Linked DNA regions of Homo sapiens: all the other regions are linked to region 1. The links are contacts of gene promoters, found by promoter capture Hi-C in blood cells and fetal thymus (Javierre and others, 2016). All regions are on one chromosome and are shown on one strand. The core of a region is centred on a gene start or on the middle of the fragment in contact, and the rest is flanking DNA. Distances in the headings are between cores, read along the strand shown.

Evidence for each region. Contacts are between HindIII fragments. The CHiCAGO score rates a contact against its expected background, and 5 or more counts as called.
Region 2: a contact is called between a fragment that was not itself captured here and the fragment with the promoter of OSTN-AS1 in region 1, in 2 of 17 cell types (total B cells and naive B cells). The highest score is 8.3, in total B cells.
Region 3: a fragment that was not itself captured here is called in contact with the fragment with the promoter of OSTN-AS1 in region 1 in 2 of 17 cell types (total B cells and naive B cells); the score reaches 12.2 in total B cells.
Region 4: a contact is called between a fragment that was not itself captured here and the fragment with the promoter of OSTN-AS1 in region 1, in 2 of 17 cell types (naive B cells and total B cells). The highest score is 6.5, in naive B cells.

Annotation. Positions count from the first base shown.
Region 1 is chr3:191,230,398-191,236,236 of GRCh38, forward strand. OSTN-AS1 (OSTN antisense RNA 1) reads right to left here and starts at 4,208. Exons shown (of 6, transcript NR_133663.1): 1 at 4,175-4,208. The region is part of intron 3 of OSTN (osteocrin); the gene reads left to right. The HindIII fragment of the contact is 7,111 bases long and covers 1-4,914 here.
Region 2 is chr3:191,422,990-191,428,702 of GRCh38, forward strand. It overlaps PYDC2-AS1 (PYDC2 antisense RNA 1), which reads left to right and starts at 2,535. Exons shown (of 7, transcript NR_120606.1): 1 at 2,535-2,615. The HindIII fragment of the contact is 539 bases long and covers 1,353-1,891 here.
Region 3 is chr3:191,388,001-191,394,237 of GRCh38, forward strand. It overlaps CCDC50 (coiled-coil domain containing 50), which reads left to right. Exons shown (of 12, transcript NM_178335.3): 11 at 1,496-1,602; 12 at 3,741-6,237. The coding sequence ends at 3,760. Among named protein-coding and RNA genes, the nearest start is that of PYDC2-AS1, 34 kb to the right of the region's middle. The HindIII fragment of the contact is 7,087 bases long and covers 1-5,772 here.
Region 4 is chr3:191,404,238-191,410,294 of GRCh38, forward strand. No RefSeq gene overlaps it. Among named protein-coding and RNA genes, the nearest start is that of PYDC2-AS1, 18 kb to the right of the region's middle. The HindIII fragment of the contact is 9,329 bases long and covers 1-6,057 here.

The sequences.
Region 1 (5,839 bases), core at 2,958-5,457:
TACTAAAATACAAAAAATTAGCTGGGCATGGTGGTGGGCGCCTGTAGCCCCAGCTACTCAGGAGGCTGAGGCAGGGAAATCGCTTGAACGTGGGAGGTGGAGGTTGCAGTGAGCTGAGATCGGGCCACTGCACTCCAGTCTGGTGCCAGAGCAAGACTCCGTCTCAAAAAAAAAAAAAAAAAAAAAAAAAGACACATTCTTAAAAGGGCTAAGTAGCATGAGAACTCACTATCAGGTGATAAGAATAAGAAATGGGACAAGAAATGAAATTGGGAAGGAGAGTTGGGGTCACAAAGGAATGTTGCATTCTGCAACCATTCATATTGCTGCCCTCTGGAACGTGCAGTGCAGAACCCATATAACGTTAATCAACATCCCTGGAGCTAGATTGCAAAGGTTTCATCCAATGCTGTATAAAGCAAGAAAAGAATTTAGTAAAATAATTGATGACCCTAGGAAATTAAAAATGAACTATTTCTTTTCCTTTTTTCTCTCCTTTACCTTCACCTCCAACTATTTCGAGAAGTTTGGCAGTGTTAAGGAGCATGAGGCATTTGCACAGAAGCTCATCTACGGGCTTCGGAAGTTGAGAATCCCTCCGAATGCATACTCTTTAGTCTTCTATATTTTTATTTTTTATAGTTGATAATTTATGCATTCAAGTTAAATTCCAAGGACACTTCCTCTGAGATTTTTTGGCAGCATTTTTTTAAATACAGGAATTCCTCTTTTTGTTCTGAAAGCAAATCTGAAACTTGTTTTGTATATTCCAGAAGTAGAAAACAATGAAAGACAAATAATAGTTATTGCATAAAATATTTCTATAGACATTTCTGAGTTTTAGTTAAAAACAATTTCAGACTTATTTTGAGGTGTAATGATACTTCAAACATAATACAGTGTTAAAATTTTCTGTCATCTGTTACCAAGGCTTCAGCGTCATTAAAAAAATCACACATATATATATATATCACATATATATAAACCACAAGACTAAAATGTGACGTATTTAGTAACAAGAATGTATAGCTTGCAATTTTGCAAACTTTTCATAAAAATAAAATTTTATAAAAATTATAATAATTTTGCTTAGGAGAGCTGTACTGAGGGTTATTTACTGCTATTTTTTCAAATTCTATGAGACAAGAATTTTACTGCTTCCTTATGTGTTGTTAGATCTTTCACAAGACCAGGAATTATTTGTTAGTGTTATACGCATGAGTGTGCACAAAAACTTCATGAGTTTCTTATAAATGTCTGCGATTTTCATGTATATGCCCTCATGTTTTTCCCCTTATCAGGCACACATTCTCTATCTTCCCATACTTACTAAGAGAAGGTAATACATCTGAGATCCATTTTCCATACTCTGTGCTTAAAGATCACATACATCACTTAATTCAGGGATTCATAAACTTTGTGTCATATGTCACTATGGCAATTTGGGGAAACCTATGAACCCCTTCTCAGAGTATTGTTTTTAGAGTGATAGAATTTATGAGTTCAAAGGTTAGCCACTGTTTAGAAACAGAATTATCAAAAACAATTTTTTAATTAATTTGCAATAAAACATATACATAAAATATTTTAAATATTATATTTATTAATACCTAAAATAAGATGTAAAGATATGTCTGCAAACAATAGCTGTGGCTGGGTGCGGTGGCTCATGCCTGTAATTCCAGCACTTGGGGAGGCCGAGGCAGGCAGAGCACCTGAGGTTAGGAGTTCGTGACCAGCCTGGCCAACGTGGTGAAATCCCGTCTCTACTGAAAATACAAAAATCAGCCAGGCGTGGTGGCACTCAACTGTAATCCCAGCTACTCGGGAGGCTGAGGCATGAGAATCGCTTGAACACGTGGGAGGCGGAGGTTTCAGTGAGCCAAGATTGTGCCACAGCACTCCAGCCTGGGTGACAGAGGGAGACTCTGTCTAAAAAAAAAAAAAAAAAAAAAAAAAAAAAATTGTTGTAACTAGTGCAGAACATAACCATTTCAAAGCATCTGTGATAATTAAAATGTGCTTTGAAAGTATTTGTGATTTATATGAGTAACAATGTTCAGACACAACTATTACTATTATTTTTTTCTATATTCATAAAGTAAATGCTATATATATATATATAAAATTATGTTTATTTTTATTTTTATTTTTTGAGATGGAGTCTCACTCTGTTGCCTAGGCTGAAGGGCAGTGACTAAATCATTTTTTTTTTTTTTTGAGACGCAGTTTTGCTCTTGTTGCCCAGGCTGGAGTGCAATGGTGAGATCTCGGCTCACTGCTCCCTCCACCTCCCAGTTTCAAGTGATTCTCCTGCCTCAGCCTCCCAAGTAGCTGGGATTATAGGCATGGGATTATAGGTGCCTGCCACCACACCTGGCTAATTTTTGTATTTTTAGTAGGGACTGTGTTTCTCCATGTTGGCCAGCCTGGTCTCGAGCTCCTGGCCTCAAGTGATCTGCCCACCTCTGCCTTTCAGAGTGCTGGGATTACTGGTGTGAGCCACTGCGTTCGGTCATAAATGCTATCTTTCATTTACAGGTTAATGGAACTAAAGATGTAACCCTTTCCCATCTACACGTATAGGCCCCTGAATTATATTGCTCCATAATCCCAGATTTTAAAACTCTGAGTCACCAGGGTACAAAACATATTATTTAATTCTATATTACTATAAAATATCAGAAAAGAAAAAGGAAATTAACTCTACTTTCAAAAAGGTCCACCAGGAGATGGAAACAAAAAAATTCATGAAAGCTAGGGAAAACAAAAATGAAAAGAAACAAATATAAAAAGCTAAACAGGGAAAACCCTATATCAGGTCATATTAACTTGAAATAAAGAACCACCTGTTGTTTCCTATTTTGTATTGCTTAACACATTTTTACCTGAATAGGACACTAGCTTCATTTTCTGATTCATGTGCAAATTACTTCAATTCTCCGGGCAACACTAACTCAACTATACTTTGAAGCCCAAAATATTTTTCTCATTTCCATTCACTTGTTTAAAGTCTGAAGTTACCATTTTATTTCTGTTTTCTTTTTTTCGTTTTTTGAGACAGAGTCTTGCTCTGTCACCCAAGCTGGAGTGCAGTGGCAAAATCTCAGCTCACTGCAACCTCCACATCCCGGGTTCTAGCGATTCTCCTGCCTCAGCCTACCAAGTAGCTGGGACTCCTGATCTCAAGTGATCTGCCTGCCTCAACCTTCCAAAGTGCTAGGATTACAGGCATGAGCTACCACGCCCTGACTTTTTTCTGGAAGAATAGTATCTACTATCTGACTGACTCTTTAACATTAGAAGATATTGACGGCCAGGCACTGTGGCTCATGCCCTTAATCCCAGCACTTTGGGAGGCCGAGGCAGGCAGATCATCTGAGGTTGGGAGTTTGAGACCAGCATGACCAACATGGTGAAACACCATCTCTACTAAAAATACAAAATTTGCTGGGTGTGGCGGCGCATGCCTGTGATCCTAGCTACTTGGGGGCTGAGGCAGGAGAATCACTTGAGCCCAGGAGGCGGAGGTTGCAGTTAGCTGAGATCACACCATTACACTCCAGCATGGGTCACAAGAGCGAAACTCCATCTCAAAAAAAAAAAAATTGATGATTGGCCTAGAATTTTTCTAAATAATGGTTTCTCTCACTCCTTCACACAACACTAAAAATGTCTTGCAAATAATAACAATAATAGTGCTCTATATTTGAATTCAATTACTATTAAATATTTGTACAACTCTTATTGCTTTAATTCTCCCATTTAATATTTTAGGTCAGTAAAGCAAGAAATGCTATTGGGTTAGGGTTCCAACAAGAAATAGGTGTCACCTTTGAAATAGGAAAATTTGAGGAGGGTTTTTTCAAAGGAAGACTATTTACAAAACTCTGGGTACAGGTAGATTATAATGGATGGCACAGCAGCCCACGGTGGCCTGAAAAGACAAGAAAGGAAGAGGTTTCCAAAAGTCAGAGAGTCACAGAGTTTCAGATGCCTTGAGAAAAGTAGTGACTTGGCCGGGTGCAGTGGCTCATGCCTGTAATCTCAGCACTTTGGGAGGCCGAGGCAGGTGGATCGCCTGAGGGTAGGAGTTTGTCACCAGCCTGGCCAGCAAAGCGAAACCCCGTCTCTACTAAAAATATAAAAATTAGCTGGGTGTGGTGGCACGCGCCTGTAATCCCAGCTCCTTGGGAAGCTGAGGCAGGAGAATCGCTTGAACCCGGGAGGCAGAGGTTGCAGTGAGCCAAGATCACGCCATTGCACTCCAGCCTGGGCAACAGAACGGGACACCATCTGAAAAAAAAAAAAAAAAAAGCAAAGCACAAAAAGAAAAGAAAAGTAGTGACTTTTCTTCAGGAGCATACTCCCGGGAAGAGGTCTTGCAAGGAGTGGCCAGGAGAAAATTATCCTGACCTCTCTCCTCCTCTTCCTCTATTCTGTCTTCCCCAAATTATCTATTGCTTGATCCACACCAAAGCCAGAGGGCACAGGAACATTTATATGTTCCAAAAAGATCAGCCTCCTAGGACTGAAAGTAGGGTGAGAAAAGGCAGCATACATCTGAGAGCAGAGGGAAGATAGCCAGCAAAATTATACACATTCTGTAGATTTAGGTCAAGAAACACTTTGCTCCAGAATATTGTTATTATACCACCTAATTGAAAGAGAAAAACTCCATAAGTCATAATCAGAAAAAACAGCTTTTCCTCCCATCCCCATGCATTCCAACCCACTCAGTGGTAGTTGTTGTTCCCTACCCCTTGAGTAAACCCAAAGGCAGGTATTAATGGCTCTACTGGCCACATCAAAATAATAAGAATCCCTATGGTTACTTGTACTAGAAAAATAACCATATAACAGTAATTCAAATAACCATTCTTATATGTGACCCCAAACCATGAATACTAATAAAGCTTCTCTTTTCCCTAGCTTGGACCCCATTCATCCTGGAAGGCTTCAGTGGGAAGGAGCTTGTGGCCAGTTTATATTCACAATCTCCCCTATCACAGTAGGCTGCCTTTTGTCTCCTCCAGAACTGGGGATGGAGATGCATGCAGAGAAGTAAAACAAAGTCTTACTTGACATAATATCATGACCTGTCTTTGTGCCCTCATGGCTTTGGTGAATGCTCAAAGCTGACTCATCTTGGAATGTTTCTGGGGGTCACATAACCCCCAGTGCGAATAGTAACATAGGCGTCCTTACCTCCAATAATACTCCTCTTCTGGCAGATCTGCTATGCCCCTCATCCTCACCCTACTCTCTCATCTTCTGCATTTGACACCACCATCAGCATCCTGATGAGTTTGCTTCCCCCATCAGCCCTGACAGAAAGCCCTTGGGGCAAGGTCCCTTTTATAATTGACCCAGGCTGACTCTCTCCACATGCTCTACATCTGCCCACAGAAAACCCACATCCTTGACTCTCATTACTGAAAGTGAAGCAGTTCTTGGTGCAGTCATCTCTTCAGTCTGGTATCAAGCCAATTCTCACAGCTTCTTGCCCTTTAGATTTCATAGACACTATTTTATTAGGTTCACCATGCTTCAATGGACATATTTTAAACTCGAAGTGTTTTTCTCAAAGCCCTTTCCCCATATGAAGGAGGAAGGAAAATGCCATTGTTTTTCAATAACTTGCTCCCAAGAAATTCTCCCTTCCTGAGCTATTCAATATGAATCCTTTTATTGGATTGAAGTTGGAAAAAACTAAGTTTGTAGCAACCTCCTTTGGAAGTACTACATAAGTCTAGCACCTCACTTTGGAATGCAAAACGAAATACTTCCCACATACTTTCTCTCTTTCTGTCTCTTTTTTACTCAGCCTTTTAAAGCC
Region 2 (5,713 bases), core at 372-2,871, 190 kb after region 1:
AACAGGCAAAGATTTCATGACAAAGATGCCAAAAGCAATTGCAACAAAAGCAAAAATTGACAAATAGAATTAAAGAACTTCTGCACAGCAAAGGAAAATATAAACTATAAACAGAGTGAGCAGACAACCTACAGAATGGGAGAAAATTTTTGCAAACTATGCATTCAATAAAGGTCTCATATCCACCATCTCTAAGGAACTGACATTTACAAGGAAAAAATAACTACCCCATTAAAAAGCAGGCAAAGGACATGAACAGACACTTTTCAAAAGAAGACATACATACGGCTAACAATCATCTGAAAAAAAGCTCAAAATCACTGAACATTAGAGAAATACAAATCAAAACCACAATAAGATACCATCTCACACTAGCCAGAATGATGACTGTGAAAAAGTCAAAAAGGAACAGATGCTGGTGAGGCTGCAGAGAAAAAGGAATGCTTATACACTGTTGGGGGGAATATAAATTAGTTGAACCCTTGTAGAAGACAGTGTGGCAATTCCTAAAAGACCTAAAAACAGAAATGCCATTTGACCCAAGAATCCCATTGCTCAGTATATACCCAAAGGAATATAGAATTTGTTCTATTCTAAAGACACATGCACACATATGTTCATTGCAGCACTATTTACAATAGCAAAGAAATGGAATCAGCTTAAATGCCCATCAGTGATAGACTGGATAAAGAAAATGTGGTACATACACACCATGGAATACTACGCAGTCATAAAAAAGAATGAGATCATATCATTTACAGGAATATGGATGGAGCTGGAGGCCATTATCCTTAGCAAACTAACGCAGGAACAGAAAACCAAATATTGCATGTGTGAGCTAAATGATGAGAACATATGGGCAAACACAGGGGAAAAACATACACTGAGCCTTTCAGAGGGTAGAGGGTGGGAGGAGGGACTGGATCAGAACAAATAACTAATGGGTACTAGGCTTAATACCTGAGTAATGAAATAATCTGTTCAACAAACTCCCATGACACAAATTTATCTACGTAACAAACCTGCACATGTTCCCCTGAACTTAACATGAAAGTTAACAAAAAAAAAAGAAATAGTCGATAAATTAGAACTCACTGTGTGTTTGGACTGAATAGCATTACCAAGACAGTAGTTGCAATGCTCACAACTCCTCTGCGAGGTAGGGAAGGCTGCACGTCTCACTGTACAGAGAAGGAAGCTATTGAGTGGCAGGGCCAATGTGGCATAGTGGGCTTGGTTTCCAACGAGCACGTGTGATTGCCTCTGGAGCTTTTAGATCAAGTTATTTAAATATAGCTAGCATAGTCATGAAATAGAAGGGTACATTAAATAGAAAGTGGGGTAGTAGGTAAAGCTTCTGTGTAGCCTTGCAGAAGTCAGATCAATTCTCTTGGCCTTAGTTTACTCAACTATTAGACTCTGTTTAGTGAAGCCCATTTCCAGCTATGAAAATCAAGTTTTTTGCCATGTCGATAGAATGCAATAGGAAAGAACAAAGGAATAACAAGTATGTAAAATTAAAAAAAGAAATGCGGTTAAGGGCTCTCTCTCTTTCTCTCTTGTAGGTGTGGGTGTGTGTTGGCGGGTGTCCCCTAATGGAAATATGAGGTAACTGTAGGGACAAATTATAGGAAATAGAAAATACATGGCAGAAAATACATGTCCGTATATTGATACAGACAATGAAATTGGTTGCTTTTTGTTTATGGTATTGGTGGGAAAATGACCCCCTCATTAATCAGATGGGACCAGGTGGCATGAAGAAACCCTGGGTTATCTTGGTAAATGCCTAATCTTTCCTCTCTTCCTCTATCCTGTTCTACTCTATTTTGATGGACATGTTCAGCACTTTTTGATCTATAGCAATTAAAAGAGAGCTTTTGCTGATGGAAGCTTGTCAGGCCTTTGAATCTGACACCAGGACCAGAGGGAGAGCTGCATCTGCCGTGGGAGTCTGGGCTGTCAGGTGATGACAGGGGCTTGCCCTTCCAAGGGGAGATCGCCTTTGGCAGGAGTAAGTGCTTTCACCCAGAGGCAGCCCTGCTAGTGAGATGAGAGCAGTGTGCACTGAGTTAGCAAAGTCAAAGGAGCGAGCTGGCAAATAGAATCACATCACATCTGCCAGAGAAAGTGATCAAAAGCAACAGGACCCAGGCAGCTGGCAAAAGGTGACCCCTGGATACTGGGCTGCTTCAAAAACACAGCTGATCCCAAAGATTGTGACAAGTGAATGAATGTGCTCACTATAAGTCTCTGCCAAGTTAAATAATACAGCTCTCTCTCCTTCCTTCCCTCTCTTTTTCTCTTTCTTCACTTTTTAAAAATCCATTCTATCTAGTTTACTACTGATATGGTTTGGCTGTGTCTCCACTCAAATAGCATTTTGAATTGTAACTCCCACAATTCCCACATGTTGCCGGAGGAACCTGGTGGGAGGTGATTGAATCATCGGGCGGGTCCCGTGCTGTTCTCGTGATAGTGAATAAGTCTCACGAGATCTGATGGTTTTAAAAATGGGAGCTTCCCTGCAGACGCTTTCTTCTCGTCTGTCGCCATGTGAGATGTACCTTTCACTTTCCTCCATGATTGTGAGGCCTCCTTAGCCACATGGAACTGTAAGTCCAATAAACCTGTTTCTTTTGTAAACTGCCCAGTCTCGGGTATGTCTTTATCAGCAGTGTGAAAACAGACTAATACAACGACTTACAGATTATGAAGAAATAATGTTTTGTACAAGGTGTATACTTTTGGATTTTGGGTGTTCTGATTAGACCCCATTGATTTCTTGGGAACACTGCCCCTACTAATCTGAATGCTTCTGCAAGCAATAGACTATACTTAATTGTCTTTTGTCTCCCATCGGTTGAGAGCCACATGTTTAAATGAAATGAAAAACTGTTTCATTTCAAATTCAAAAACAGTGTATTTTGCTAAAAGCCATGCCTAAGGAAGAAAAGTAGGTTATTTATTTCTGTATATAGAAGGAATATTTTAATCTCCTGATTTATGGTTCCTCGGCCACAGTCTTTGTTTGTTCTTTCATTTAGCCTTCAACTTTATGAAGAGAAGAGGTCATTTTCTCTTGAAATTTAGTTTTCCATTTTCTTTATAATCAGATGGTAACTATTTCAGATGCACTCTCAGCAGGAAAACATTGAACATTTTTAAATAAATACATTTACTGCAACTAAACCAGCCATAGCATGTCTGCTCATTAAGGTTTGAATTTTGTTAAATGTTTGCTAAAAACATATCTTTATGTCCTAGAAAACCAATTCACTATTCCATTGCAGATATATACATCGAGGAAACTGAGGCCCCAAATGATCATAGGATCTGCCTCATGTCACCCAGTTTATTAATGGCAGAGATAGTTCTTGAACTATTTATCCTTGACTCCCACCCTTGTACTCTTTCCAGCCTGCTTGTGCCACCTCCCTCTCCAAGTAAAAATCTATTATCCAGTGAGACTCAATCAATGATTGCTACATTCTTGTTATTCAGAGTGTGGTCTGGGAACTAGCATCATGGACAAACCCTGGCAGCATGTTAAAATGCCGAATCTTAGACTCCACCCCAGACCCATGGAATCAAAATCTGCATTTTTAACTCAATTCCCAGAAGATGTGCAGATTGAATTGTATGATAAACCTAAGAACCTAAGTTCTCAGGTGAAAGTTTTTAATTGAATAATATATTTCATTAGGTTTTATAGGATTGTAAAACATCTTATGCATATTTTTATTTTAACTGTTAAGGCTGTTAATTATTCTTTAATTTAGCTTGTTAAATGACAGAAGTTTAGCACCATCCATTTATTTAAGTGCAAAAGTAAGAGTGATCTCTAACCTTAGGCTGGCTATTAGAGAAAGTAAGACCTTTGGGGGCTGACATTCAAGGCCTTTCGTAGTTTGGCGTATAATAGGGGGCTGTGATGGTGTAAACAGATTGCTAAATGTGAAATGGACAGTTGTTAAACTGGACTATCCCTTTTCACTGAGAAATACACAATGCATTACAAACTCAATCTTAAAACATTCTTTGCAAACATAAGTTGAAGGCAGGACATTTTCTTGTCCTCTTCCTTATAAGTGAATAGCAGTGGTAGGAGATGGTCTGCCATCACAAACTTAAACCATTTAATTCCTGCTTTGGAATGGAGGAGCACAGGCTTTGCCTTTGCACACTTCATTTTCATTCATCTCTTATTTTCCCCTCCTCTCCATCTGTATGGTCTGTGCCTTGTCCTCTTGTGTCTCACTGTTCCAGAAATGTATTAAACAGTCTTGTTCTTCCAAATCATTTTCTGTGATGCCAACAGAAATGCCTTTAAAAAACAAAACAAAACAAAATCTGATAATCTGAGCTTAAAACTTCCAATGTCTTCTATTCTTATAAGATTAAGTAGAAACTTCTTAATAGACCTACATCTTAATGTCCACTATGATTTGGCTCTGACCCAATTTACTAATGCAATGTGTTATCCTTGCTTGTGCTCTGGATAAGAAAAAGAACATTCCTGGTCTATAAAAGGCATTATAGAAAAAATGGGAGAAATTTGAATTTATTCTGTAACTTTGATCTGTGTATCACAAGAAGTATTGCATCAATGTCAAGTAATTTTACTAATTTTATTAATTGTAATGTTTATGTAAAAGAACATCCTTCATTTTAGAAAATTACACTCAAGTGTTTAGAGCGTAATTCTGTTTGCAGCTTTCTCTTTAGAAAGTATTATACGTATATATATGTATTTATGTACACATGTATACATAGTCTGTGGAGAGAAGGAGTCATATGAGAGGGAAAGAGAGAAAGTATGCATGGGAATGCTGAACACATGCAGTAACATGTTAACATTCAGAAATTTAAGACTTTTAGGATTTCTTTGTGCTATTACTACAACTATTCTGAGTCTAAAATTTCAAAATAAAAAGCGGAAAAAAAATAAATTTTTATCAGCTTGTCATGTGGATCATCCTGCTGCCATTACATTTCTGTTATAAGATAGTAATCCACAAAATAGCTTATTGACTTATTTTTTAATGGAATGAATCTTATGAAACAATAGGCTTACTATGATTCAAGTTATATATGTTATATACACCTATCTATTTTAGTATAGAAAATACACTAAACGGTAAATATACAAATGTTAAGGATAGTTGTCCTTTGGCAGTGGGATGATGGATGATTTTAACTTATATTTTCTTTTGCTTATCTGTTTTTTCATAATTTATTCAAATGACTTTTTAAAAATTAGAAAATAAAATTATTCACGCAAATTATTTGTTAAACTTTATTTCATTTTGTTTTGAAATTAAAATTACAAGTAATGTATTTGCATCTTACTTTGCAAAATATTAGTGTCTATTTTAACATTGCTTAATCAGCAATTAAATGATTTCTCTAATATTTTGTTTTTCTTAGTTGTTGACAGAGATAAACAATTGAAAAAAATATTGCTTTTTCCTCAACCATTAGTCAATAGTTGTCATCTACTTTAACACTTGAATTTTTACTGTAGCTGCTAGAAATGGACACACTGAGTGGTTTGGATAAATATATATACCTTTGTCATGAACCCACTGGCAAAAGTATTATTAAGTGCCAAAGAGAACAGAAGTCAGGTACAGAGAAAACCTAAAGAGATAAACACCCTATATGTTATTTCTATTTAAGGGACAAAAGTAGTTATATGTTTGTTCAGTGA
Region 3 (6,237 bases), core at 979-3,478, 160 kb after region 1:
CTTACATTGTTTATTAAAGATAAGTGTTAAAAATATCAGGTATTGGAGAAAAATACTATTTAATTTCCAATATTGGTAAACAAATGATTTAAAAATAAAAATTAGAAAAAATGCATTATTCACTATGTTTCCATTACTTTTATATATATATATATAAAACAGATGCATGAAATGATATTTGAAAGTATAAGTACAATAACATATGAAAGTATACTTCTGAAAATATACAAATGCATATATATAAACACACATATATACATATAGTCTTTTATACAGATGATGCTGCTCCTGATAAAAATACACACCTATGTAGTAGAGTAGTTAAGAACACTGGTTTTGAAATCCAGTTGAGTTTGAGCCCTGGGTCTGCCACTTAACAGCTGTGTGAAAATGGACAGATTATTTACCTCATCTAACCTAATCTGACTCAAATATGTATATGATAGTTAGCATTAGCATACAGACTTGTCCTGAAAGTTAATTGAGATAATCTGTGTAGAACCTGTAGCATGGTCCTCAGCACATATGCCAGTTTATATCCCATGCTGACCTCTTCGGGATGCTGAATACCCAGGGAAAGATTTATTGCATGGCGACAAGATAAAAAATTTGGAAACACTTGCTTTTATTTTTACATGACAGAGCCCATTGTACCAAACCAACTATAACTTTACAAACTTCAGAATACTTATGCCTTCTAGATTTTACATATAAATGTACAAAATGGCCTACAGTATGGTTATATTTGATAAATCTTTGATATATTGATAAATTTGATAATCTGGTGCTATCCTTTAGTGCAAACTTTGAGTATACCTTTGGGAGATAAAGAATGAGAGGTTTTCTGCTTCAGTGCTACATGTTTGCATAAATCTATGTTAAGTAATTTTAATAAAAAGTTTAGAGTAGTAAAAATTATATCTTTTTTTTTTTTTTTACATTTTTTGACATAAAAAGTTGCGAATGTATTACATAGAATTTGCAAATGTATTAAGATCTGTTTTGCCACCTAGTGGATAAAGGAACTTTGCTCATGAAATTTTGTTTCTGTTTCCTCCCTCCTTTCTGTCTCTTACCCTTCCTTTTTTCTTTTTTTCCTTTCCTTTCTTCCTTGGCTTTATTATTTTCTTCTTTTCTGTTCTTTATTCTGTTATTTTTTCTTTGACTTGGTAAGACCTACCAAAACAAAGTTTATTTCTTATAAATGGCAGCAGTCACATCTCACTAATCTTTGTTTATTTAGCCCAGTTCCTAACATGTATTAGTTGTTGAGGAGATAATTGTTTGTATTGAATTATGACATCAAAACAAAGGAACGGGAAGATAAATAATTTATTCAAGGCCATGCAACTGTCCAGGAACTACAGTGTGAATTCTGAAGCATTTTGGCTTTTCATTTCACAAGAAAATGTTTTTAGCTTGCAATCCAGTAAGAGGGGTGGAGTTGTAGTAAGCGTTACTTAGAATGCCCCTTTAAATTCTGGATTCCTTTTAGGCCACCACCACCTATCATGACAGATGGTGAAGATGCGGATTACACTCATTTTACAAACCAGCAGAGTTCCACACGGCATTTCTCAAAATCAGAGTCCTCTCATAAAGGTAAGAAGAGTATGTATGGTCAAGTTTAGGATCTTCTTTTTTTATATAAGCCTCGTGTTGTAGTGGAAAAATCAAATTCTGTGTTCCACTAGAGTGGAAAAATAAGTTATTCTGTCAGCACATTGTTATAGAACTCCTCATTTATTAAAACAGTAACAAAACAGAAAACAGAACACCCTAAATTTTATGTAAGATATTCTGTGTATTTGCATTTTCCTCGAGAGGGAGCACAACGCTTTCATCAAATTCACTTTTTTTTTTTTTTTTTTTTTTTTTGAGTCGGAGTCTCACTGTGTTGCCCAGGCTGGAATGCAGTGGCATGATCTTGGCTCTCTACAGCCTCCACCACCTGGGTTCAAGTGATCCTTCCATCTCAGCCTCCCAAGTAGCTGGGATTACAGACATGTGCCACCACACTTGGCTAATTTCTGTATTTTTTTTGTAGAGATGAGGTTTTACCATGTCACCCCAGGCTGGACTCAAGTAATCCCTCTGCCTCTGCCTCCCAAAGTGCTGGGATTATAGGCATGAGCCACCGCACCCAGCTCTTTCATCAGATTCTTAAAAGGTGGTGGTGACCTCCATTTAGATCTGTAGGACTGCATTTTCTGTAGTGGCTCTTGTTTCCTATCTGCCCATGACTCTTATTAATTAGATTTAAAATATGCATGCACACCTCCCACATAACTGTTATGCAAAAGAAAAATGGAACAAAGCATAAAGAAAAAATAGGGATACCTCAATTGGACGAAACCTTTAAAATTTGTTTCCAGAAAAGGGTCCCGATTCAGACTCCAAGAAGAAGGTTCGAATAAAGAATGGCTGCTCAGCAGTGTGGGCTGCTGGTTGCCCATTTTTATGGTTATTTGATTATATGCTGATTAATACAAGGGGTATATTATTCATGAGTTTTCTGGGAAAGGGGTGGGCAAATCCTGGAACTGAGGGTTCCTCCCCTTTATAGACCTTATAGGGTAACTTCTGATGTTCCCATGGCATCTGTAACCTGTCATGGCTCTGGTGGGAGTGTCTTTTAGCATGCTAATGCATTATAGTTAGCATATAATGAGCAGTGAGGACAACCAGAGTTCAGATTTGTCACCCTCTTGGTTTTGGCCAGGTTCTTTACCAAAGCCTGTTTTATCAGCAAGGTCTTCATGACCTGTGTGTTGTGCCAACCCCTTATCTCATCCAGTGACCTAGAATGCCTAACCTCCTGGGAATGGAGTCCAGTAGGTCTCAGGCTTATTTTATCCAGCCCCTATTAAAGATGGAGTCTCTCTGGTTCAAACGCCTCTGACAGAGGAACGTATTTGCTCTTGCAAGGATCTGCGTTCACTTATGTACATTTTTATGAGAGCTGTAAAATGAAATGGTGAAAAGGTAGTTTCTCATATTAACTTCCTCATCTGCAAAATGGAGGCAGTCTAAATAGAAAGTGTCAGAGTTGTCAGGATCATAAAAGATTAAATATGTGAAAGAATTTTGCACAGTGCAGTAGACTTTGCAAATATATTATATCTCATTAATTGATGCTGTTTATTTGTTATGATTTTTGAAGACTTAGGTGATATTGTTATTCATTTCCAAGTCAATAATAATGTCCCCAAATATCTTTAAATAACATTTTCTGCTGTCATTTAAAAATACCATCGCAAAAATGACACTCTAGACTACTTCAATCAGAATCTCTGGATGGGGGTTGTCAAGCATTTGCATTTTTAAGAAGCTCCCCCACCCCCACATTCTGACTCACATCCAATACTGAGAAAAAGACAAAAGGCATTATTTTAAAAGTAAGGTTAGTTGGACATTATAAACATCTTCATCAACACATCCCACCTCAACTTCCATCAGTTGGTGGCATTTTCACTGTTCCCGATTTAACGAAGTAGCTCATATTTTTCTTTCTCAAACTACATGTATCACCTTTTGGGGAGTACCTTACTGTCTTTGACATACATTTGATGCATAATACTAAACTAACACATTGATTCTGTATATATGTCACAATCAAGAATAAAGTACTATTAGAAATGTATAGAAATAAAGTTATTTTACTTGGGCAGGGAGAAAAAGCTGTTTGAGTTTCAAAGGTTTTTCCTTAATTGTGTTTCCTTTTTTCTTCCCCTCCCCAGGTTTTCATTACAAACATTAAAAACCTAGGAATCTGCCTTGAAAATGGACTCACTATAGCAAATATTACTGGGTGATACAGAATGAATTCTACACTTACTTTTTTTCTCCTGTGTTTGCATTCCTGGGATTTATCCTCAAGTGCATTTCTGACCATAAGTAATTTTAATTCATTTCAAATGTTTTGGTTATTCATGATCACTTGGGCAGTATAAGAAAATGTAGCTTCTGAATATTGGCCACCTCTATGCTGCATATACTTCTTGGGATATAGTATCTAAGACCTTTGTAAACTGCCATTTTGTTAGGTATGGAGTTTGGTATCTAGGGAGTAGGCCTTATTTAGCAATTCAAATTTTATGGAGATGAATGATCAAAGTGAAACAATGTTTGGATGCAACGCAGAATAAAAGAATATAAGAAATAGCTTTTTGTTGCATTAATGTATGATATTTTGAAGGACAGAGCCTTTGCTTTTTGTATTCTTTAAGAAAAGCACAACCATAAAGTATTTTAAAAAAAGAAACACTTGGAGCAATTGAAATATGTTATTCTGACTAGATGGACTGTAGAGGTTTTGCATTTCTCAGCCCTCCTGGGGAGATTGGCCTAGATAGCATTCTTTAACACTTCCTCTGCTTTTGCCTCAGTAGCAAGGCTTTCCTAAGCTCCTGGGCAATGGAACATTTATTAGTATTTATTGACAAAAATTTAGTTCTCTGAAATTTTAACTCATATATATGAAAAACTTTGTATTCCATCTCTTCTTTTTCATTTACTTGTAGAGCCAAGGAAATGGAATTGAAAGATGATTGCATAAGTAATGATGCCATCCTTCTCTCTGGCTGTAGACTGAGGCTTTTCTCTTGCTTCAAGTCAGAGCAGTATTTGTTGATAACCTCTCAATAATGTTTGGTTTACATGCCAGTAATTAAATTAATTCAACATGAAGTTGAATTTGATGAAGTGGTCATCTATCCAAGTATTTGGTTTTTGTTTTGTTTTGTTTTGTTTTTTGAGTTGGAGTCTCGCCCTGTCACACAGGCTGGAGTGCAGTGGTGCAATCTTGGCTCACTGCAACCTCCGCCACCTGGGCTGGAGCAATTCCCCTGCCTCAGCCTCCCAAGTAGCTGGAATTACAGGCATGTGTCACCACACCCGGCTAATTTTTGTATTTTTAGTAAAGAGCGGGTTTCACCATGTTGGCCAGGCTGGTCTCGAACCCCTGACCTCAAGTGATCCACCTGCCTTGGCCTCCCAAGGTGCTGGGATTACAGGCTTAAGCCACCATGTCCAGCCAGCCAAGTATTTGGTTTTAAACATTTGTATTCCTTTGTGCAAGGGATTGTATTCCTCTGTACAAGACCTTTAAGCACCTCTTCAAGAAATTTAGTCTTTGTGTAGCTGCTAACCTTACTGCAATATTTATTTTCCCTTATTTTCCCATACTACTTAGTTGACAAATGGCAATCAAGCTCACTTGTTCTCCCTCTCTCTGTCTCCCCCCCATGTACACATATATATATCCCTTCAGCTTGACTTGCTATTATTTTTCATTGTATAAATATGAAATTCTTGGCATTTCAATATGGCATTTGTTTAGGGAAAAAATATGTAGGTCACTAGAGAAAAATGTTAATTTTTTTCCCACTGTGAATTGCCTTCTGTTTGCCTTATCTTTTCAGATAGTCTTTAAAGTTGGGCAATATTCAGGCAGCTATTTAGAACAGTTTCTCAGAGTGGATTTGGGTCTCTCATTTGAGAAAGATTTGTAGTTTCAATGAAGTTTGTATATTATAGGAATTTAAGTAAAATCATCTGAGTTAAGTTTTGGGCAAATGTTAATCAGAAAGATAATCTACATCCCTACTTTATGTAGTCATTTTGGAGAAATGGAGGAAAAGGAAAATAACAGGACTTTTTATAGCTGTGATAAAATGGGTAAAGAAAAACCTCCATTTAAATAAGGAAGGGGAGACAAAATGGAAGGTCCTGGCCTTAAGTCAAATTCCAGATAGTGCTTTCAATATCCAAAGCTTAGGCCTTGTTTACTTATAGTAATGCTATATTTTTCTTTATCTGCCCTGTGATTTCGCTTCGTGTCCTTCAAAGTTTTTTTATTGTAATTTTAAAGGAAAAAAACAATGTATTTTTATTTGATAACTAGGCAAAATCATTTGCCATTTTTTATTTCATAAATATTTATTTTTCTATCTCATACAATGATCAGTTTTACTTTAAAAATTCTGCATTTCTCTTGCCTCTCATGTACTTCATCCAGTTATTTATTATTGTAAAATGTTAACTGGAGATACTGCATTCAAAAAAAAGTCGGACCACTTAACACTTACCAGGAATGTTAGTGTTTCAGCTGTTTTAGTAAGTGACCAAGTAAGCTATCACCTTGTGATAGCTAATTCAACATCTTTATTGAAAATTTGTTACTTTTTTTAAAGGTTTTTAAAAGATTACAATTTTAAAATATTTTATGTTTATTTT
Region 4 (6,057 bases), core at 985-3,484, 170 kb after region 1:
AAATGGAATTGCTTTCTTAATTTCCTTTTTTGTTTGTTCATTACTAGTGTATAGAAACAATTGATTTTTATTTATTGATCTTATAACCTGCAGCTTTGCTAAATTCACTTATTAACTCCAGTATCTATCTTGTGGATTCGTTGGGATTTTCAATATATAGGATTATATCATAGGCAAACAGAGGTAGTTTTACTTCTTCCTTTCAAATTGAGATGCTTTGTATTAGTCTGTTTTGCATTACTAGGAAGAATTACCTCAGGCTGGGTAATTTCTAACAAATAGAGGTTTATTTGGCTCATGGCTCTGCAGGCTGTACAATAAGCATAATACCAGTATCTGCTTCTGGTGAGGACATCAGGAGGCTTACAGTTATCGTGGAAGGCAAAGGGATAGGAGGTGTGTCATGGCAAGAGAGGGAGCAAGAAAGAGGGAGGAGGTCTCAGACTCTTCTTAACAACCAGATCTCGTATGAAATCATTACAGTGGGGAGAATACCAAGCCACTTATGAGGGGCCTGCTCCCATGACCCAAACACCTCCCACTAGGTTCCACCTCCAACATTAGAGATCACATTTCAACATGAGATTTGGAGTTGAAATCTAAATATTTAAACTATATAATTCTGCCCCTGGGTCCCCAACTCTCATGTCCTCCTCACATTGCAAAATGTAATCATTCCTTCGCAATAGTCCCTAAAAGTCTTAACTCATTCTGGTATCAACTTGAAGGTCAAAAGTCTCATCTGAGACTCAAGGCAAGTTCCTTCCACTTATGAGTCTGTAATATCAAAGCAAGTTATTTACTTCTAAGATGCAATGGTGATACAGGCATTGAGTAAGCATTCTCATTCTGAAAGAGACATTGGCCAAAAGAAAGGGGCAACAGACTTGGCAAGCAAGTCCAAAACCCAGCAGGGAAGACATTAAACCTAAAAGCTCCAAAATAATTCTTGACTTCATGGCTCACATCCGGGGAACACTGGTTCAAGGGGTGGGTCCCCAAGGCTTTAGACAGCTCTACCCCTGTGGATTTGCTGGTGCAGCCTATGTGGCTGCTGTCATGAGTTGGAGTCCATTGTCTGCAGCTTTTCAAGTTAAAGGTGCACACTGCTGCTGACTCTACCATTCTGGGGTCTGGAGGGCAGTGGACCCCTTCCCACAGCTCCACGAGGCAATGCCCAAGTGAGGACTGTGTGTGGAGCCTCCAACTCCACATTTTCCCTTGGCAGTGTCCTAGTAGAGGTTTCCTATGAACCCTCTGCCCCTATAGCAGGCTTCTGCCTGGGCACCTAGGCTTTCTGATACATCCTCTGAGATCTAGGTGGAAGCTGCCAAACCTCCTCCACTCTTGGATTCTGCACACCTGCAGACTTAACACAATGTGGATTCTTCCAAGACTTATAGCTTGTGCCTTCCAGAATGGCACCTTGAGTTGTACCTGGGTCCCTTTGAGCTTTGGCTGTATCTAGAACAACCAGAATGCAGGGAACATCTCTCCAAAGTGGCAAAGAGCAGCAGGACCCTGGGCCTGGCCCCTGAAACTATTCTTTGCTCCTAGGCCTCTGGGCCTGTGATGCGAAGGGCCACCTCAGATATTTCTGTAATGCCTTGAGACCTTTTTTAAAATCGTCTTGGCTATTAGGACATGACTCCCATTTATTCATGCTAATATCTCTAGCAATGGTTGCTTGCTCAAATTCCTCACCTGGAAATGCTCTTTCCTTCTCTACCACATGGCCAGGGTATAGATTACCCAAATTGTTATGCTCTACTTCCCTTTTAATGATAAGTTCCAACTGTAAGTTCTTTCTGTGCTCCCATATCTGATCACTGGCCATGAGAAGCTAGCACACCAAATCTTGCATGCTTTGCTGCTTAGAAATTCTTCCACCAGATACCCTAAGTCATCACTCAAGTTCAGTCTTCTGCAAAGTCATAGGGCATTGGCAAATGCAGCGATGTTCATTGCTAGGGCATTACAAGAGCAATCTTTGCTCCAGTTCCCAGTAAGTTCCTCATTTCCATCTGAGACTTCATCAGTCCAGCATTCACTCTCCATATTTCTATTAGCATTTTGGTTACAATCATTTAAACAGACTCTAAGAAGTTCCAAACTTTCTTTGTCTTCCTGTCATCTTCTGAGCCCTCCAAACTATTCCAACCTGTGCCTACTACCCAGCTTTAAAGCTGCTTCCACATTTGCAGGCGTTGTTATCACAATGCCCCACTCCTTGGTACCAATTTTCTGATTAGTCAATTTTGTATTTCTATAAGGCAATAGTTGAGGCTGGGTAATTTATAAAGAAAAGAGGTTTATTTGGATCATGGTTCTGTAGACTGTACAAGAAATATGTCACCAGCATCTGCTTCTGGTGAAGGCCTCAGGAAGCTCCCAATCATGGTGGAAAGTGAAGGAAAAGCAGACATGTCATATGACAAGAGAGGGAGCAAGAAAGAGGGAGAAGTTCCCAGACTCTTTTTAACAACCATATCTCATGTGAATATATTACTATGGGGAGAGCACCAAGCCTTTCATGAGGGATCTGCCTCTGTGACACAAACACCTCCCACCAGCCCCACCTCCAACACTGGAGATAATGCTTCAACATGAGATTTGGAGGATACAAATATCCAAACTATGTCAGCCTTTTATATCTTTTTTACGTCTACTTTTTCTGCCTAGAATTTACAGTACAATATTGAGTAACAGCAGTGAAAGTGGGCATGAGAGGGCAATGCTTACCTCTTAGAATGAGTTAGGAATTGCTGCCTCCTATTCTATTTTTTGGAGGAGTTTGGGAAGGATTATTTTCCATTCTTATTTATTTATTTAGAGAGTTGACCAGCAAATCCATGTGGTCCTATGCTTTTTAAATTTTTTAAATTTTTTTTTTTTGAGATGGAATCTCGCTCTGTCACTTATGCTGGAGTGCAGTGGCACTATCTCAGCTCACTGCAACCTTTGCCTCCCGGGTTCAAGCGATTCTCCTGCCTCAGCCTCCCGAGCAGCTGGGACGACAGGCGCGTGCCACCATGCCCGGCTAATTTTTTGTATTTTTAGTAGAGATGGGGTTTCACTGTGTTAGCCAGGATAGTCTCGATCTCCTGACCTCGTGATCCACCTGCCTTGGCCTCCCAAAGTGTTGAGATTACAGGCATGAGCCATCGCGCCCATACTGGGAGTGTTTTAATTACTGATTCAATTTCTTACTACAGGTCTGTTGGGATTATTCATTTCTTCTTGAGTTGGTTTAGGCAATTTGTGTTTCTAGGAATTGGTTCTTTTCATCTAGGTTATCTAACTTATGGGTATACAATTGTTCATATTATTATAATCTTTTTTATTTTTGTAAATTTGGGATAATCCTTTTTATTTTTGTAAGATTGATAGTAATGTTTCTACTCTTATTTCTAATTTTAGTTATTTGCTGCTTTGCTTTTTGTCAGTCTTAACTAAAGGCTTATAATTTCATTTATCTTTTCAAATAAACAACTTTTGGTTTTGTTGATTTTGTTGTTTTTCTATTCTCTATTTCATTTATCTCTACTCTGATCTTCATTCTTTCCCCCTTCCTGCTAGTTTTTTCCTGTTTCCTCAAAGTATAAAGTTAGATTAATGGTTGGAGATTTTTCTCTTTATATGGGTATATGCAGTTATAAGGTTCCTTCTGAGTATTGCCTGTGCTTCATCCTCTAAATTTTGGTATTGTGTGTATGTGTGTGTGTGTGTGTGTGTTTATCTTTATTACTTTCTAAGTATTTCCTAGTTTACCTTTTGATTTTTTTTCTTTATCTCATTGGTTTTAGAGGGATGTGTTAATTTTCACACATTTGTAGTTTTTCCATATTCATTACATTGACTTCCAATTTCATTAAATTGTGATCAAAGAAGATACTTTGATTTTGACTTTATTAAATTTATTAAGAGTTACTTTTTGGCCCAACATAGTCTATTCTGGACAATGTTCCATATGCACTTGAGAAGAATGTGTGTTCTGCTGTTGATGGGTGGAGTGTTCTATATATGTTTGTTAGGTTTAATGGGTTTATAGTGTTATTCAAATCCTCTACTACTTTATTGGCCAACTGTTTAGATGTTCTCATTAATAAAAGTGGTGTATTGGAGCCTTCAACTATTATTGTAAAATTATTTTTCCCTTCAATTCTGTCAGTGTTTGCTTTATATATTTTGAAGCTATGTTTGGTGCATATATATTTATAATTTTTGTAGTTTCTTGATGAATTTACTTTTTTATCAATATAGAATGTCTTTATTTTTTGTAATTTTTTTTAGACATAAAGTCAGTTTTGCCTGGTACTAGTATAGCTACCCCAGGTCTCTTTTGGTTACCATTAGCATGGAATATTCTTTTCCTTCCTTTCACTTTAACCTATTTGTGTCTTTAGATTTAAAGTGGGTCTCTTGTAGACAGAATATAATTGAATAATTTTTTAAAAATCCATTCTGCCAACCACTGCCTTTTCATTAATGAATTTTAATCCATTGACAATTGAAGTAACTTTTGTTAAAGAAGGACTTCTGCTTGTTTGATATCTGTCTTCCAAATGGATAAATCCTTTTTTCTGTTCCTCATTTTCTCTATTATTATTTTCTTTTGTGTTTAGTTGATATTTTTAAATGAATTGTTTTGCTTCCTTTTTCAGTTTCTTTTATTTTTTTAAATATTGTCTTGGTGACTACAATGGGGATTACATTTATCATAATAAATTTGTAACAGTCTAGTTTGAATTGACATCAACTTCAATAGCATACAAAAACTTTGTTCCCTTTACACTTGGACACAGGGTGGGGAACTTCACACACCAGGGCCTATCGTGGGGTGTGGGGAGGGGGAGGGATAGCATTAGGAGAAATACCTAATGTAAATGACGAGTTAATGGGTGCAGAACACCAACATGGCACATGTGTACATACGTAACAAACCTGCACATTGTGCACATGTACCCTAGAACTTAAAGTATAATAATAAAAAAACTTTGTTCTCTTTATGTTGCTGTTGTGACATATTATATCTTTATACATTTTATGCCCAATAGCATAGATCTATAATTATTTTTATGCTTTTGTTTTTTAAATAATGTACAGCAGGGATCCTCAACCCTTGGTACTGGTCCATGGCCCATTTGGAATTGGGCCACACAGCAAGAGGTGAGTGGTAGGCGAGTGAGCATTACCTCCTGAGCTTCACCTCCTGTCAGATCAGTGGTGGCATTAGATTCTTATGAGCATGAACCCTATTGCGAACTGGGCATGCGAGGGATCTAGGTTGTATGCTCTTTATGAGAATCTAATGCCTGATGATCTGGGGTGGAGCAGTTTCACCTAAAATCATCCCCATCCCTGGTCCATGGAAAAATTGCCTTCCACAAAACCAGTCCCTGATGCCAAAAAGGTTTGGGAATGCTGCTGTAGGACACAAAAAGTAGAGTTATAAATTAAGAATACCATAGTGCTGGATTTTACATTCACTCATGTAGTTACATTTATCAGAGCCCTTTGTCTCTTCACACAGTTTTGAGTTATTACCAGTGTCCTTTCATTTCAGCCTGAAGGTCTACCTTAGTATTTCTTTCAAGACATGTCTAGTGGTAACAGACTCCCTCAGTTTTTGTTTACCTTGGAATGGCCTAATTTCTCCCTTATTTTTGCCTGATATAGAAATTTTGGTTGTCAGTCTTTTTCATTCAGCACTTTAAATATGTCATTCCACATGCTTTTAGTTTTCATAGTTTCTGACGGGGGAATTGGCTGTTTATCCTAATGCGGCTCCCTTGTACAAGAGGAGTTGCTTCATCTTGCTGCTTTCAATATTTTTTGATTTTTGAGAGTTTGATTATAATGTGCCTCAACGTGGGTGTCTGAGTTTATCTTAGCTGGGATTTGTTGAGATTCTTGGGTGTGTATATTCATATCTTTCATCATATTTAAGACAATTGTTTTAAAGTCTTTGTCTAGTAAGCCCACTACCTGGGCTTTCTCAGGGATAGCATCTGTTCATTTATTTTGTTCCTTTAAGTAGGCCATATTTTTCTGTTT